Linked DNA regions of Homo sapiens: all the other regions are linked to region 3. The links are contacts of gene promoters, found by promoter capture Hi-C in blood cells and fetal thymus (Javierre and others, 2016). All regions are on one chromosome and are shown on one strand. The core of a region is centred on a gene start or on the middle of the fragment in contact, and the rest is flanking DNA. Distances in the headings are between cores, read along the strand shown.

Evidence for each region. Contacts are between HindIII fragments. The CHiCAGO score rates a contact against its expected background, and 5 or more counts as called.
Region 1: a contact is called between a fragment that was not itself captured here and the fragment with the promoter of CCL22 in region 3, in 1 of 17 cell types (endothelial precursors). The highest score is 6.0, in endothelial precursors.
Region 2: a fragment that was not itself captured here is called in contact with the fragment with the promoter of CCL22 in region 3 in 1 of 17 cell types (M2 macrophages); the score reaches 5.1 in M2 macrophages.

What each region holds. Positions count from the first base shown.
Region 1 is chr16:57,415,553-57,420,188 of GRCh38, forward strand. It overlaps CCL17 (C-C motif chemokine ligand 17), which reads left to right. Exons shown (of 4, transcript NM_002987.3): 4 at 213-511. The coding sequence ends at 309. Among named protein-coding and RNA genes, the nearest start is that of CCL17, 13 kb to the left of the region's middle. RefSeq lists enhancers at 565-1,080, 1,081-1,596, 2,113-2,627. The HindIII fragment of the contact is 928 bases long and covers 2,376-3,303 here.
Region 2 is chr16:57,299,161-57,304,067 of GRCh38, forward strand. TRL-CAG2-1 (tRNA-Leu (anticodon CAG) 2-1) reads left to right here and starts at 791; the gene lies at 791-873. TRL-CAG2-2 (tRNA-Leu (anticodon CAG) 2-2) reads right to left here and starts at 1,402; the gene lies at 1,320-1,402. RefSeq lists enhancers at 515-644, 1,055-1,114 and silencers at 765-974, 1,265-1,434. The HindIII fragment of the contact is 5,981 bases long and covers 221-4,907 here.
Region 3 is chr16:57,356,021-57,360,353 of GRCh38, forward strand. It overlaps CCL22 (C-C motif chemokine ligand 22), which reads left to right and starts at 2,763. Exons shown (of 3, transcript NM_002990.5): 1 at 2,763-2,869. The coding sequence starts at 2,797. The HindIII fragment of the contact is 35,589 bases long and covers 1-4,333 here.

The DNA.
Region 1 (4,636 bases), core at 1,590-4,089, 60 kb after region 3:
AAGTTCCTGCAGCCCTGGCTCCCTGGGAGGGTCGAGATTACTCGGGACAGAGCCTGAAGTCCCAGATCTGCCACCAATGCCCTGTGTGACAGCAGCAACTTCCTGCCCCTCTTGGAGCCTTGGAATCCTGGTCAGCACAGGGCGGGCCGTCCCAGGGACTCTGGGGGCCCTTCCCCCCCTGCCACTCCTGGTAACGTCCTCCTTCTGTGTAGTTTTGTAACTGTGCAGGGCAGGGCCATCTGTTCGGACCCCAACAACAAGAGAGTGAAGAATGCAGTTAAATACCTGCAAAGCCTTGAGAGGTCTTGAAGCCTCCTCACCCCAGACTCCTGACTGTCTCCCGGGACTACCTGGGACCTCCACCGTTGGTGTTCACCGCCCCCACCCTGAGCGCCTGGGTCCAGGGGAGGCCTTCCAGGGACGAAGAAGAGCCACAGTGAGGGAGATCCCATCCCCTTGTCTGAACTGGAGCCATGGGCACAAAGGGCCCAGATTAAAGTCTTTATCCTCAGTCTGTGTCAGCGTGTCTGTCCCCACAGCGCAAGATGCGCTTCCACTCCGGCCTGTCACTCTGGGAGGGTTCTCAGAGAACCTCTGGTCCTGCCCTGTGCAGGTCGGAAAGGGAAACTGAGGCTGAGAAGGGCACGTGGCTTCCGCAGACCACGCACCAGTGAGGGGAGGCCCTGGTGAGAGGCCCGGGCAGGGGCGGGGTTGGCGGGGTCCTGGGAGGCGGCCGCTGGATTCTCTCCCTACCCACCCCAAGGTCTCCCGGTTTCCCCCCAGCCCAGCTCCTGTTCTTGCCCCACGTGGAGCTGAGGACAAACTTCCCCGAGGTGCTGGAGTCAATTTCACAGACTGGCCAGGACCCTGCCGCAGGCCACAGCTCTGCCCAGTGCTGGGGAGCCCCCTGGCCAAGGGTGGGGGAAGCTTGTAGCCCTGTCCTTGCCTTCCCCTGCACTCACTGCAGTCCAGCTGGCCCGGCTCCTCCTGGCCCTGGCTCCCTCTCCCCGCTCAAACTCCAGACCCCAGCTCCAGGGCGAGGGGGCTCTGTGGGTCCTGGGCCCTCTGCCTGCGGCTGACTTCCTAGCCCACTCCAGGCTCAGGCAGGCGGGCGCCACGCGGCCCTGTGGTTCCTCCTGACTGAAGTGTGATCCCCACCCGGCCCTGGCTGCGCCCAGCCTGCCGGAAGCCGGCCCAGCACAACCGCCCACCGACTCGCTCCCCCAGCTCTTAGGGACTGCCCTGAAGCCGACCCCTGCTCCGCGTGGTTCTCTCATTGTGTGTGTGTGTGTGTGTGTGTGTGTGTGTGTGTGCGTGCGCGTGTGTGGCAGTCCCAGCTCCTCCATTAGGTTGAGAGCTCCGTGAGCCACTCCGGGGACCCCACACCCCTGTGCTAAAAAAGATGGGGACTAGAGGCTCAGGACACCCCACCCCCAGACCCCTCTGCCCATGCCCAGCTAAGGGCTGAGCACAGAGGAGTCGGGGCCTAAGCCTTCTAGTTCTCTCTCACTCTCCCAACCAGCGATGGGGCCGTGGCTTCTCTCTGAACACAGTTTGGCGGCAGGGGCGCGGGTCCTTCTCTTCCGAGGACCTTGTGGCGGGCATTGTTTGGTGGGGCTGCGGTTAGAAGGGCAATTTCCAGGCCCGGCTGTTGCCTCCTGCTGCTCCCTTGTGGCCAGTCAGCTCATTGCAGGGCAGATGATAGAACCCAAGTTTACTTTCCAGTACGGGCACAGCGATAACGAGGTTGATAAAACCAGTGAACTGGCTTGCCTGTGACTCTAGGGTCTCTTCAGCCGCAAGTGGGCTCATCTCCTGTCCTGATGCCGAGGAGGATCACTTGAACAACTGCCTAAGACCCAGAGTCCTGGGGATGGCCCAGTCTGAGTTCTTCATGGAAAATTGTCCTCTGAATCCACCGGGAGGAGGAAGGATGATCTAAAAAGGGAGGGAGGCAAGGAGAAGCTCCTAAGACAGCAAAGGCCAGAGACAGCCGGGGTCTGGACCCCTGCACCCTGCAGGCGAGAGCTGGAAGGACTCTCAGAGTGCAATGGCTCCATCTCAGCTCACTGCAACCTCCGCCTCCCAGGTTCAAGCGATTCTCCTGCTTCAGCCTCCTAAGTAGCTGGGATTACAGGCGCCCGCCACCACACCCGGCTAATTTTTTTGTATTTTTAGTAGAGACGGGGTTTCACCATGTCGGTCAGGCTGGTCTTGAACTCTTGGCCTTATGTGATCCACTCGCCTTGGCCTCCCAAAGTGCTGAGATTACAGGCATGAGCCACCGCGCCTGGCCTCCAGCAAACTTCGTTTAAAAAAGCAAGACCTTTTTTGTTTTTTCCCTACTGAAATCCTACTCAGAAGCCCATATTGTAAGCTTAGGTAAGTAGAGCTGCCGTGGAGGCCTGTGAGGAGGTGGGGAGTTGCCAGAGGGTCCCTGAAAGTGAGATAGGGTGGGGCATTGCATAAAGGCAGGGAAGAGGTGGATCCAGGACTGGCAACAAAACGCAGGATTCAGAATCCAAGTATTCACGAGCAGCATCCGGTGCAAGCTGGGGGATGGTGAGATGCAAGAGATAGGACAACTGCCATGTGACCTTAGGGCATTTTAAGGAGGTGTGACCTGGAGACTGCTGTGATTGGAAAGACTGCTGGGAGGGAAAAAGAGGAATGGGCAGGTTCGGGGTGAAAAGTGAGGAGAAGCGCCAGACTTATGTTGTTTCTTTCACCTGGTAGGTGCCTCCCCTCCTCCCCCACCCCACCCCTGCTTTTTTTTTTTTTTTTTTTTTTTTTTTTTTTCAGATGGAGTCTGGCTCTGTGACCCAGGCTGGAGTGCAGTGGTGCGATCTGGCTCACTGCAACCTCTGTCTCCCGGGTTCAAGCGATTCTCATGCCTCAGCTTCCTGAGTAGCTGGGATTATAGGTGTGCACCACCACACCTGGCTGATTTTTGTATTTTTAGAAGAGATGGGGTTTTACCATGTTGGCCAGGCTGGTCTCGAACTCCCGAGCTCAAGTGATCCGCCCACCTCGGCCTCCCAAAGTGCTGGGATTACAGGCGTGAGCCACTATTCTGAAATCCAGTTTCTCTTCAACGCTCAACTCAGTGCTGCCTCTGCCACAGCCAGCCTACTCAACCTCAGCTGTGTGTCCTCCACCTGCACCCAACGCTCACCTTAGTCTAATCCTGACCACACTCTACCCCTTGTAATTGGAGCTGCTTGGGTGATTTACCCAATAAACTCACTGAGCAGGTATTTGGGTCAGGAAACAGTACCAGACTCATTTATGAGGAGGGAAAAAAGCTTTGTGCACAGTGTATATTTGATTTATACATTTTCATCAGTGCTGCTCAGGTGAATTCCACAAGGGGCACTAGTGGGGAAAGAGAAATTTCCTGGGGAGCCCTAATAACCCGGCTTGAAGCATATTGCATCTCCAAACGTGGAAATTAGAATTGGGTTGTTTTCCAGTGGCCCACCAGAGGGCACTCTGCTCTTAGGAGGAAGTTCTGAGGCTGATGCGCCAGGGGCCCTGACCCCACCAGCCAGACTCCGGCCCCATCGCTGTCCCCAGGGGCTGGGATCAGCCACATCTGGTTGTAGCTGCACTAGGCCTTGGGGCAGGGGTGTCTGTAGCTGGCCGGCTCTCCTCTTGTGGGAACAGAAGCAAAGAAACCGCCAATTACACTGTCTGGGGTTTGCTGGATGAAGAGGAAGAAGGAAGAAACCCTGCTGGGACTAGCAGGGCCACTAACTCCAGACGCAACCTGGGCAGTGCCAAGAGCTGTGGGCTGGGGTGTTTCACTGTGTTTTCTTAGAGACTGTATTTGGTCTATTTGGCATCCATTTATCACAGGGCCAAATCACAGGGCCAAAAGCATTTATACCTCCCCTGCAAGCTGGTTTTTGCAAGTGTTTGAAAGTAATAATAGTTACAAACCCTCCAACCAATCCCAATCACAGGCCCCCCAACCATCTCTATTTAACTCTCACACCAAGCCAGTATTTCCCCTGCCCTAAATCACCCAGAGCCAGGTAGAGACAACTAGGGACGGCCCCTAAGCCCAAGGCCCCCTGGAATTATTCCAACTAGCCAGACCCGGGCTGCTTCCCCTGGCCTGCCTTGCACTTCGGGTGGAAACCCCACAAAAGGCTGTGGCCTGTGCTGTTCTGATCCTTCCTTTCAGCCTCCTGACCAAACTTGGTGCTCCCCCTGTGGCCCCGTGTGTGGTCCTGCGTGTGTGCCATGCCCTGTTCTCCTGGGAGATGCAAGTGATGAATTCTTTCAGTGTCCTTGGTCGCTCTGTGTTGTCACTCAGTCACCTCCATCAATTCAAATCCTGGGGGTACATTTTAAATTTTTTAAATTGATGCATAGTAATTGTACATATTTATGGGATACATATGATACTGTGACACAAGCATACAATGCATAGTGATCAGATCAAGGTAATCAGGATATCCATCACCTCGAACATTTATCATTTCACTGTGTTGGGAACGTTTCAAATCTTCTCTTCTAGCTATTTTGAAATATACAATAGGCTGGGCATAGTGGCTCACACCTGTAATCCCAGCACTCTGGGAGGCCAAGGTGGGAGGATCACTTGAGCCCAGGAGTCTGAGACCAGTCT
Region 2 (4,907 bases), core at 1,961-4,460, 56 kb before region 3:
TCGTCTTGAATGCCTCCAGCGACAGGGATATCACTACCAATACAGTCACCCTGTTTCCTTTCCAGCAAACTCTTTCTTCTCCCAAACCCATCCTCTGTAACTATTCACCCACTGCACCCCCACCTCGGGCCCCAGTTCTTGGAGCAAAAAGGACAGGCAGACACAATCCCAACCCCTTGTATATCAGGCTTTTGTAGACAGATAATAATTCTCTTCCCCAAGCTTAACAATCTCCAACTTTTTCCCTTGATCAGCTTATTAGAAAGGTCTAAAAGCCAACTCTTTCTGAATGAGGCCCTAGGTAATCATTTGCAGAGTGGGATCTCCCAACCCAAGGCCTCCCGTCCTGAGGAGCGGATGACAAAAACCTTATAGAGCGTCCTCCTTCCAACAATAATTCTCCAAACCCCGCCCCCTACTCCGCCAGTGCCCCATTCACAGCCCGAAACATCCGACCGGTATTAGTAATAGTTCATAATACCACCACTTGAGGCTCAGAGCCTGGGCAGGCAGCTAGAATTTAGCAACGTTATTTCGTTTTCATTGTGTTTATTTCTGTTGATGGTAAGGGAAACTGATTTTCCATTTAAATTATCTGTGTATTCAGTTGAAAGCGCCAGTTTGACCACAGCAGTGAGTCTCGCTGCACCGGATGGGTTTGGTTGTGGATAACCTAAGCTGCAGGCCGGACTCGGAACTGCCCGGGACACCGCCTCTGGGTTCTGAGTCCCGAGCGTCGTTGAAGCATGAGAGGAACTACATCAGACCCCAAAATAGTCTCTCCTAGGAAGTCAGGATGGCCGAGCGGTCTAAGGCGCTGCGTTCAGGTCGCAGTCTCCCCTGGAGGCGTGGGTTCGAATCCCACTTCTGACAAGCGCTCTTTTCCGGTATTTCAGAAGAGAAATCTTCGACGACCGCACACCAAGAGAGGCCCTCAAACACAGAGGACCGTACGTTTTACACACAATCCAAAGTCTAAATGAATGTCTGTGGGGAAGAAAAAGTCTGACAGGACGTGGTCGTGTGATTCTGAACTCCCAACTTCGGAGGAGGTTGAGGCGGGAGGATGTCGCCACCACACTCCAGCTTAGGCGACAGAGCGAGATTCTTTTTTAAAAAAGAAAATGCTCGTTAATAAGAAAATACTCGTTTTGTAAAACAATTAAGATTATGCGAACATATACGCACAAGACATCATAACCTCATTGATCTGTAAAAGAATAAAAAAAGATTATAAGAACATATACACAGAACACATACACACAAGACATCATAACCTCACTGATCTGCGGTGTTGATGAGGAAAAGTAATTGAGCTCTGTCAGAAGTGGGATTCGAACCCACGCCTCCAGGGGAGACTGCGACCTGAACGCAGCGCCTTAGACCGCTCGGCCATCCTGACTGCTTGCAGTGTGTGGCGCATAAAGCCTCTTCACAAGTTCTGCAATATGCGCATGCGTAGTGGGCAGCGAAGACCCACTCCTAGTTGTCCGCCCGGCGTTGGGTGGAGCGAGATACACTCACTTGCTCCAATGGGCGTGGAGAGATGGGACAAGGAAGGTCAGCGCGATGCACCTAGGCGACGCCAGAGGGTGCGCAAGGCCTACTAGAGAAGGCCGAGACCGAAGACTGTTACTTCAATACACATGCATTCGTGCCTCCAGCCTGTATTCATTCTGCATTCATACATGTACTATCATGTCAGCTTTGATTCCTGAAATCTGCAAGCAACCTTGCATTTCCCTTGTGCACAATGCAATCAAGTCCGTATACCTGCACTGATTCGCAGACATTTCCGTGGGCTGGCGCCCAATCTAGGTAAAGCCCAGGTATTGCAAGGCCGCCTGGCACTCTTACCGCGCTCTCCTTCCGAATACTCGCCCCAGCTGCAGCTTCACATTTGTATATGTGTTATAATTCATTTACTCAGGCTCCGGGATAGAACGAGGCCTGCAGCTGCACAGCCAGACCCGCCCTATTCCTATGTCCCCAGTGCCCAAACCGTACCCGGCACACAGTAGGTACGCAGGGAAGATCCCATGGATTCATTCTTCCCTCGCTTCCTCCTTCCTGCATCCCCTCATTTCGTGACTCATCTCTCTTTTCCTGGCCCCCGCGGCATCTTCCTCTCTTCCCTTCCACCCCCTCTAGGCTTACGCACGCCGCGCACAGGCTGTTTCCAGGGACCAGAAGACCTCGGTACCGAGAGGGTGCCCTTCTCCAGAAGGATTTCTAGGATCTCAGGGGGCTGGGCCGCTGACCTGGTGTGTAACAATTACACATTAATTAATGAATTCCCTCATTAATGACTCATATTCCTACAATGGCAGCTGCTGCCCCTCTCTGTACACAGGCACTAGAAGAGAGGGTCCAAGACCCTCGAACATCTCTGAGCCAACTTTGGAGTCCAGGGGTCAGGCCTAGAAGGTGTGAGCAGTGGGGTCACATTAACCTCTTAGTGCCCTCGGACTTGTCTGAGATGGTATCACAGAGCGGCCTCGGCCAGAGAACAGCAGCACTTACCACCCTTGGATTAGATTCCCTTGAGATGCTTGGAGCTTGGGATGCAGCCCCATGGGGGTGGGCAGAGGTCCTGGTTATCTGAAAGACAATGAAATCCTCCTCTTTCCCTGTCCCAAATGTCCTCTCCTCATTGACTGCCAGAATTCTTTCCTTTAGGTTTAGCACTAAACTCTTTTGTGTCCTCTTCTAAAATACAAATTGCCCTGGAAGCTGGAAAGAAAGTCAACAAACATTTATTAAGCACTTGCTATGTGCCACTCTTCTAGATGCTGTGAACAAAACAGAATTTCCACTCTCAAGATACATTCAGGCATGGAGCGAAGGGAGAAGGATAAGAAACAGGTGGACAAATACATCCAGGTGTTGTTAAATGCTGGGTAGAGGATGCATCAAGAAACTCATGAAAGACTTTAAAACAGGCAAAAAAGATAGCTGGATCTGATTCTATAAGGGCTTGCACCTTTCATTACTTTTATGTCCAAATAATTCTTGTCCACAGAAATACAGGTGAATTTTGTTAGGGTAGAATGCAATTGATCATTGCCCTGTGGATATTGACCAATTTTGCAATCTGCTTATAAATTCATTTCAGCATTCCTGATTGCCAATATATGTGTGTCTTTGAATTCTCTTTTGAATTGGCTATAACATTGAACAGGTCCTCCCATTAATTAATGACTAAAATAAAATCTTTGACGTGTTCATTTTATATTTATATGAGAATTATGATTTTATCTTAAAAATTATCCTTTTGGCCAGGCGAGGTGACTCATGCCTGTAATCCCAGCACTTTGGGAGGCTGAGGTGGGCAGATCACAAGGTCAGAAGTTCAAGACCAGCCTCGACAACATGGTGAAACCCCGTCTCTACTAAAAATACAAAAATTAGCCAGGCGTCATGGCACTTGCCTGTAATCCCAGCTACTAAGGAGGCTGAGGAAGGAGAATTGCTTGAACCCGAGAGGCAGAGGTTGCAGTGAGCTGAGATCACACCATTGCACTCCAGCCTGGGTAACAGAGTGAGACTCCATCTCAAAAAAAAAAAAATACCCTTTTAACAGTGATCAAGAGTGATTGGGGCTCTCCTAGGCAGGGTGGTTAGGGAGGGCCTCTGTGAGGAGCTGACACTGAGTTCAAAAGGAGAAACACAAGCAAGATCAAAGCTGCAGGTGGCAGCATTTCAGATAAAAGACATAGCCAGTGCAAAGGCTCTGAGGCAGAGAGAAATATAGTCTGTTGGAGGGACAGCAAGGCCAGTGTGGCAGGGGTAAGGTGATGGGAAGGTTCAGGCCATATCACACAGGGCTGGAGTGCCAGGGAAAGGAGTTTGGATTTTCTTCTGTGATGGAGTAACTGCTGTGTTTTTGTTTGTTGTTGTTGTTGTTTTGACACAGGGTCCAGCCCTGTGGCCCAGGTTGGAGTCCAGTGGCACAATCTTGGCTTACTGCAGACAATCTCCTGGTCTCAAGCAATCCCTGCCTCAGCCTCCCAAGTATTTGGGACTACAGGTGTGCACCACCACACTTGGCTAATTTTTATACTTTTTGTAGAGACAGGATCTTGACACTTTGCCCAGGCTGTTCTCGAACTCCTGAGCTCAAGAGATCCTCCGGCCTTGGTCTCCCAAAATGCTGAGATGATAGGTGTGAGCCACTGTGCCCAGCCTGGAGTGTTTTAAGCAGGGGAGTGGCATGGTCCTGAGGGCCCTTCAAAAACTATCCCTTTGGCTGCTGTGTGGAGGATGGACGGCAGGCCAAGGGAAGAATTGGAAGTCCAGGGGGAAGGCCAGGGCAGGGAGGGTAAGAGATGATGATGGCTGGACCAGGGAAGTGGAGATTGCAAAAGGTGGTAGAATTCAAGATTCAGGATGTGTTTTGGGGTAAAACACACAAGCCCTGCTGGCTGGCTGGTGTGTGTGTGGGGTGTCAGGGTGGAGAGAGAGGATGTAGGGATGCAATAGGAGGTCACGAAGGCCATAGGGGAGCCAGGTTACTAGATGCTTGGTTTCCCTTGAAGGCAAGGGCTTTGAAGCAGGGGCTGCTAGCTTCCCACTTTCACCCCATTTTGCAGACCAGGGAGGTAAGGCTCAGGTGGGCTGAGTGACTTGCCCAAGGTCCTCTTTGGGGCAGAAGCCCTGCACTCTCCACCTCTGGGACCCTCCCTTCATTTCTTGCATCACCAACCTTTCTGAGTGCACATCATTTTAGAGAGAAGGGAACAGAGGTAGCGCCAGAGCTGGAGCCCACACCAGCCCCGCCCTGCCTGCTGCCCTCCTGGCCGGCCTGGGAGAAAGTGCTCCCTTGATGGGGCTCAGCACCAGGTTCCCACACAGCTCTGTCTCTTGGGTTTGGGTGGATGATCAGGTGTCCCCCCTCGACACCTTTC
Region 3 (4,333 bases), core at 1,513-4,012:
GAGGCCTTTCCCGACTGCCTATCCCAAAGCTGCTTCTTTGTTTCATTCGCTTCCCGGTGTTCCTCCCAGCCTGACATTACCTTGTTTGCCATGTTTGTCTGTTGTGGAAGACAAACTCCATGAGAGCAGGGGCCCCTGCTCTCCTGTTCAGGCTGCCTTCCCAGGCTCTGGCAGTGCACTTGGCACATAGTAGGTGCTTGTATGAGCTTCCTCTGGCTGCTGTAACAAATGACCATGAACTTGGTGGCTTAAAACATCACAAATTTATTATCCAATAGCCTGGGAGGTCAGAAGTCCTAAATCAGTCTCAGTGGACTAAAATCAAGGTGTGGGGAGGGATAAGTTCTTTCTGGAGGCTCTGGGGGAGAATCTGTTTCCTTGCCTCTTCCAGCTTCTCCAGCCCGCCTGCATCCCTGGGTTCACAGTTCCACGTCACTGGGACCTCTGCTCTGTCATCCATCATCTCTTCTGACTCTGACCCACAGCCTCCCTCTTGAAATAACTCTGTGATTGCCTTGGGCCTGTCTAGATAATCCAATAAATCTCCCTCTTTAAAGATCCTAGGTCAGGTATGGTGGCTCACACCCATAATCCTAGCACTTCAAGAGGCCAAGATAGGAGGATTGCTTGAGGCCAGGAGTTCAAGACCAGCCCTGGCAACATAGTGAGATCCCCATCTCTACAAGAAATAAAAATGAGCAGGGCGTGGTGGCACACACCTGTAGTCCCAGCTACTTGAGAGGCTGAGGCAGTAGGATCGCTTGAGCCCAGGAGGTCAAGGCTGCAGTGAGCTGTGATTGCACCACTGCACTCCGGCCTGTGTGACAGAGTGAGATCCTGCCTCTAAAACAACGACAACAACAACAAAAATCCTAAACCCTAAACAGTCACATCTGCAAAGTCCTTTTTACCATGTAAGGTAACATATTCATAGGTTTTGGGGATTAGAATGTGGACATTTAGGGGGGCCATTATTCTGTTTACCACAGCGTTCAATAAATGTTTGCTGAATGAAGGAATTGGATGAATGGATGGGTCCCTTTATACATGGAGTCCCAAGTTCTGAGTTCCAGGCCTGGCGTAGCCTCTGTGTGGCTGTGTGAACTGGGCAAGTCCTCTCTCTCTGAACCTCAGTTTCCTCCTTCATTAGATGTGTTCTTTTTTTTCTTTCTTTCTTTCTTTTTTTTTTTTTTTTTTTTTTTGAGATGGACTCTCATTCTCTCACCCAGGCTAGAGTGCAGTGGCGCAATCTTGGCTCACTGCAACCTCTGCCTCTCACCGGATTCAAGCGATTCTCCTGCCTCTCAGCCCCCCAAGTAGCTGGGATTACAGGCGCATGCCATCACACCCGGCCAATTTTTGTATTTTTGGTAGAGATGGGGTTTCTCCATGTTGGCCAGGCTGGTCTTGAACTCCTGACCTCAGGTGATCCACCTGCCTGGGCCTTCCAAAGTGCTGGGATTACAGTCATGAATCACTGCACCCAGCCCATGTGTTCTGAGCACCCAACATGTGCCTGATCCTCAGAGGGCCCTGGGAATGCCAAGAAAAATGAAGGGAGACCCCAGCCTCCTAGAGCTTGGAGTCTGACTTCTAGGGAGGGGCTTGAGAAAGAGAAAACCTGACCCAGTCTGCTCAGGGCCACATTCCAGGTCCCCTAGAAGGCTTTGAAGTCCTGAGAGGGTGTGCTTACCAAGGACATGACATTTCAAACAGCTTTGACGCATAAGTAGGAGTTTATGTGGTAGAGATGTGGAAAGTGACATTAAAGGCCAGGGACAGGCCGCAGTCCCTTTTGAGGAAGTGTGAGGAGTGTGGTGTGATCCCTCAGGGGAAGGAGACCAGTGGGGAAAGGCCTGTCCGGAAACGGGGCCTTGAAGGCCACAGACAGGAGCCCGGGACCTGCCTTTAGGTGAATGGGGAGCCACGGCAGGGTTCTGAAGCAGGAGAGAGAGTGTGTAGCTCTGGACCACTCACGCTGGCTGCTGCAGGGTGGGGATGGCATTGAGGAGGCCAGCATCCCAGCCTGAGGTGGAGGTGGCCTGGACTGGGCAGGAACAGTGGGGTTGGAGAGAAGGAGCAGATCTGAGAGAGATTTAGGAAGCAGAATCAACGGGACATGGACATGGTGAGGGACTGAGACAGGAGTGGGGGAGGGAGAGCCCGGCAGCCACTGGGAAGGAAGATCAGGCAGGACAGAAGTGTGGGTAGATGCTTTCCATAAACCGTTGAGAAATCCACGACCTGGCCCAAATGTGGACTTCACGAGAAGCCCCAGATGGGTCAATGGGTCCATAGGCCTCTCCCATTGAAGAGAGACCAGTAATGCCGTCATTAAGGGTACAAGACAGGCCTCAATTCTAGGTGAGGGTTGGTCCACGTTCTCACTTGATTTACAACCAGTGAAGTCAACAGAGCTGTGAAACCATCTCCCCCATTTCCAGATGGGGAAACCAAGTCCCAGAGACACCCAGACATGGCCAAGGCCACACAGTGCAGAGACCCTGGGGAGCACAAGCCTCTAAGAGGGGGATTTTACAAGTCTGTCTGAAACCAGAGGCGAGGACAGAGTTGAGGGGGGGTCCCCTCTGAGTGGTTCCCCGCCAAAGAGAATTTCTCCACTTTGGAGGAAGTGGGAGGTAGTTCTTCTTTTGAGATGTGAATGTCAAGTGACTCTGGGCACCCCGGTGACTAAGAGGTAAGTAAGTGAGGCTTGTGGGTGGAGCCAGCACCTTAAATAGCAGGTCTTCCTATGTCCCTTTGCAGACACCTGGGCTGAGACATACAGGACAGAGCATGGATCGCCTACAGACTGCACTCCTGGTTGTCCTCGTCCTCCTTGCTGTGGCGCTTCAAGCAACTGAGGCAGGTGAGGCTGGGGAGCAGGAAGACCCCCTACAGAGGCCAGGGCAGACGGTGGGGTGTCTTCCTCATGTCTTGGACAAGCACTGGACCAAGAGCAGAAGACCTCAGTCTGCTGTTGGCTCTTGCGGCCTTCGGCTAGTTGCAGTGCTTCTCTGGGCCTCAGTTTACAAGTCTGTTGAATGGGCAGTCTTGAAGACTTGGAGTCTAGGATCTGTCTCACCTGGGTTGGGGGTTGTGGTGGGCATAGCCTCGGGATCTCCTGCCCCAGAAAACTCAAGCATAGGGCCCTAGGGGTGTGGGTGAGGAGCTTCTAAGGGTCAGGTCTGAGTGGGGGAAGGCAGGGCTGGGGCAAGGGGTTCTCCCTTGGAAAGCTGGTGCTGCCCTCCCACCATCCATTTTTTAAAATGTTATTATTATTATTTTTTATTTTATTTTATTTTATTTTTTGAGACACAGTTTCACTCTTGTTGCCCAGGATGGAGTGCAGTGGGGCAATCTTGGCCCACTGCAACCTCTACCTCCCAGGTTCAAGCGATTCTCCTGCCTCAGCCTCCTGAGTAGCTGGGATTACAGGCATGCACCACCACACCTGGCTAATTTTTGTATTTTTAGTGGAGACAGGGTTTCACCATGTTGGCCAGGCTGGTCTCAAACTCCTGACCTCAGATGATCCTCCCACCTCAGCCTCCCAAAGTGCTGGGATTACAGGCATGAGCCACTGCGTCTAGCCTAAATTTATTTTTTATTTCATTTTATTTATTTATTTTTTGAGATGGAGTCTCTGTTGCCCAGGCTGGAGTGCAGTGGCGCAATCTCAGCTCACTGCAACCTCCACCTCTGGAGTTAAAGTGATTCTCCTGCCTCAGCCTCCTGAGTAGCTGGGATTACAGGCACCTGCCACCATGCCCGGCTAATTTTTGTATTTTTAGTAAAGATGGGGTTTCACCATGCTGACCGGTCTTGTCTCGAACTCCTGACCTCAAGTGAAACTCCCATCTTGGCCTCCCTAAGTGTTAGGATTACAGGCGTGAGCCACTGCTCTGGGCTCACTATCCATTTTTGTCCAGAACCTGTCCTCAGCATGGATTCCTGACTCCTCTTCTCCACCCCACTCTATACTTTTGCTGTGTTGGGTGGAGGAGTGAGCACTGGAGTGGGGTCAGGCAGCTATAAACAAGAATTGCTCCCAGCTGCTGGGCTTTCTGAGTGCTTTTCATGCATTAAAGACCCTCTGAAGCTGGTACTGTTATTACCCCTTTGGTCAGAGGAGGAAATTGGGCCTCAGGCTACAGCTGATGCTTAGTTGTTCTGAATCCCCGCTCCTAGAGCTGACTGTCCCAGAGTGTAGACATTGGACCCTAAGTGGCTTCTCAGAAGCTCCAAGGGTAGGGTCTTGGAGGGCTCAGAATCCTCTGGTCACCATCCTTCCACATGAGAACAGAAAAACTGCATCTCTTTCCTGGAGCCT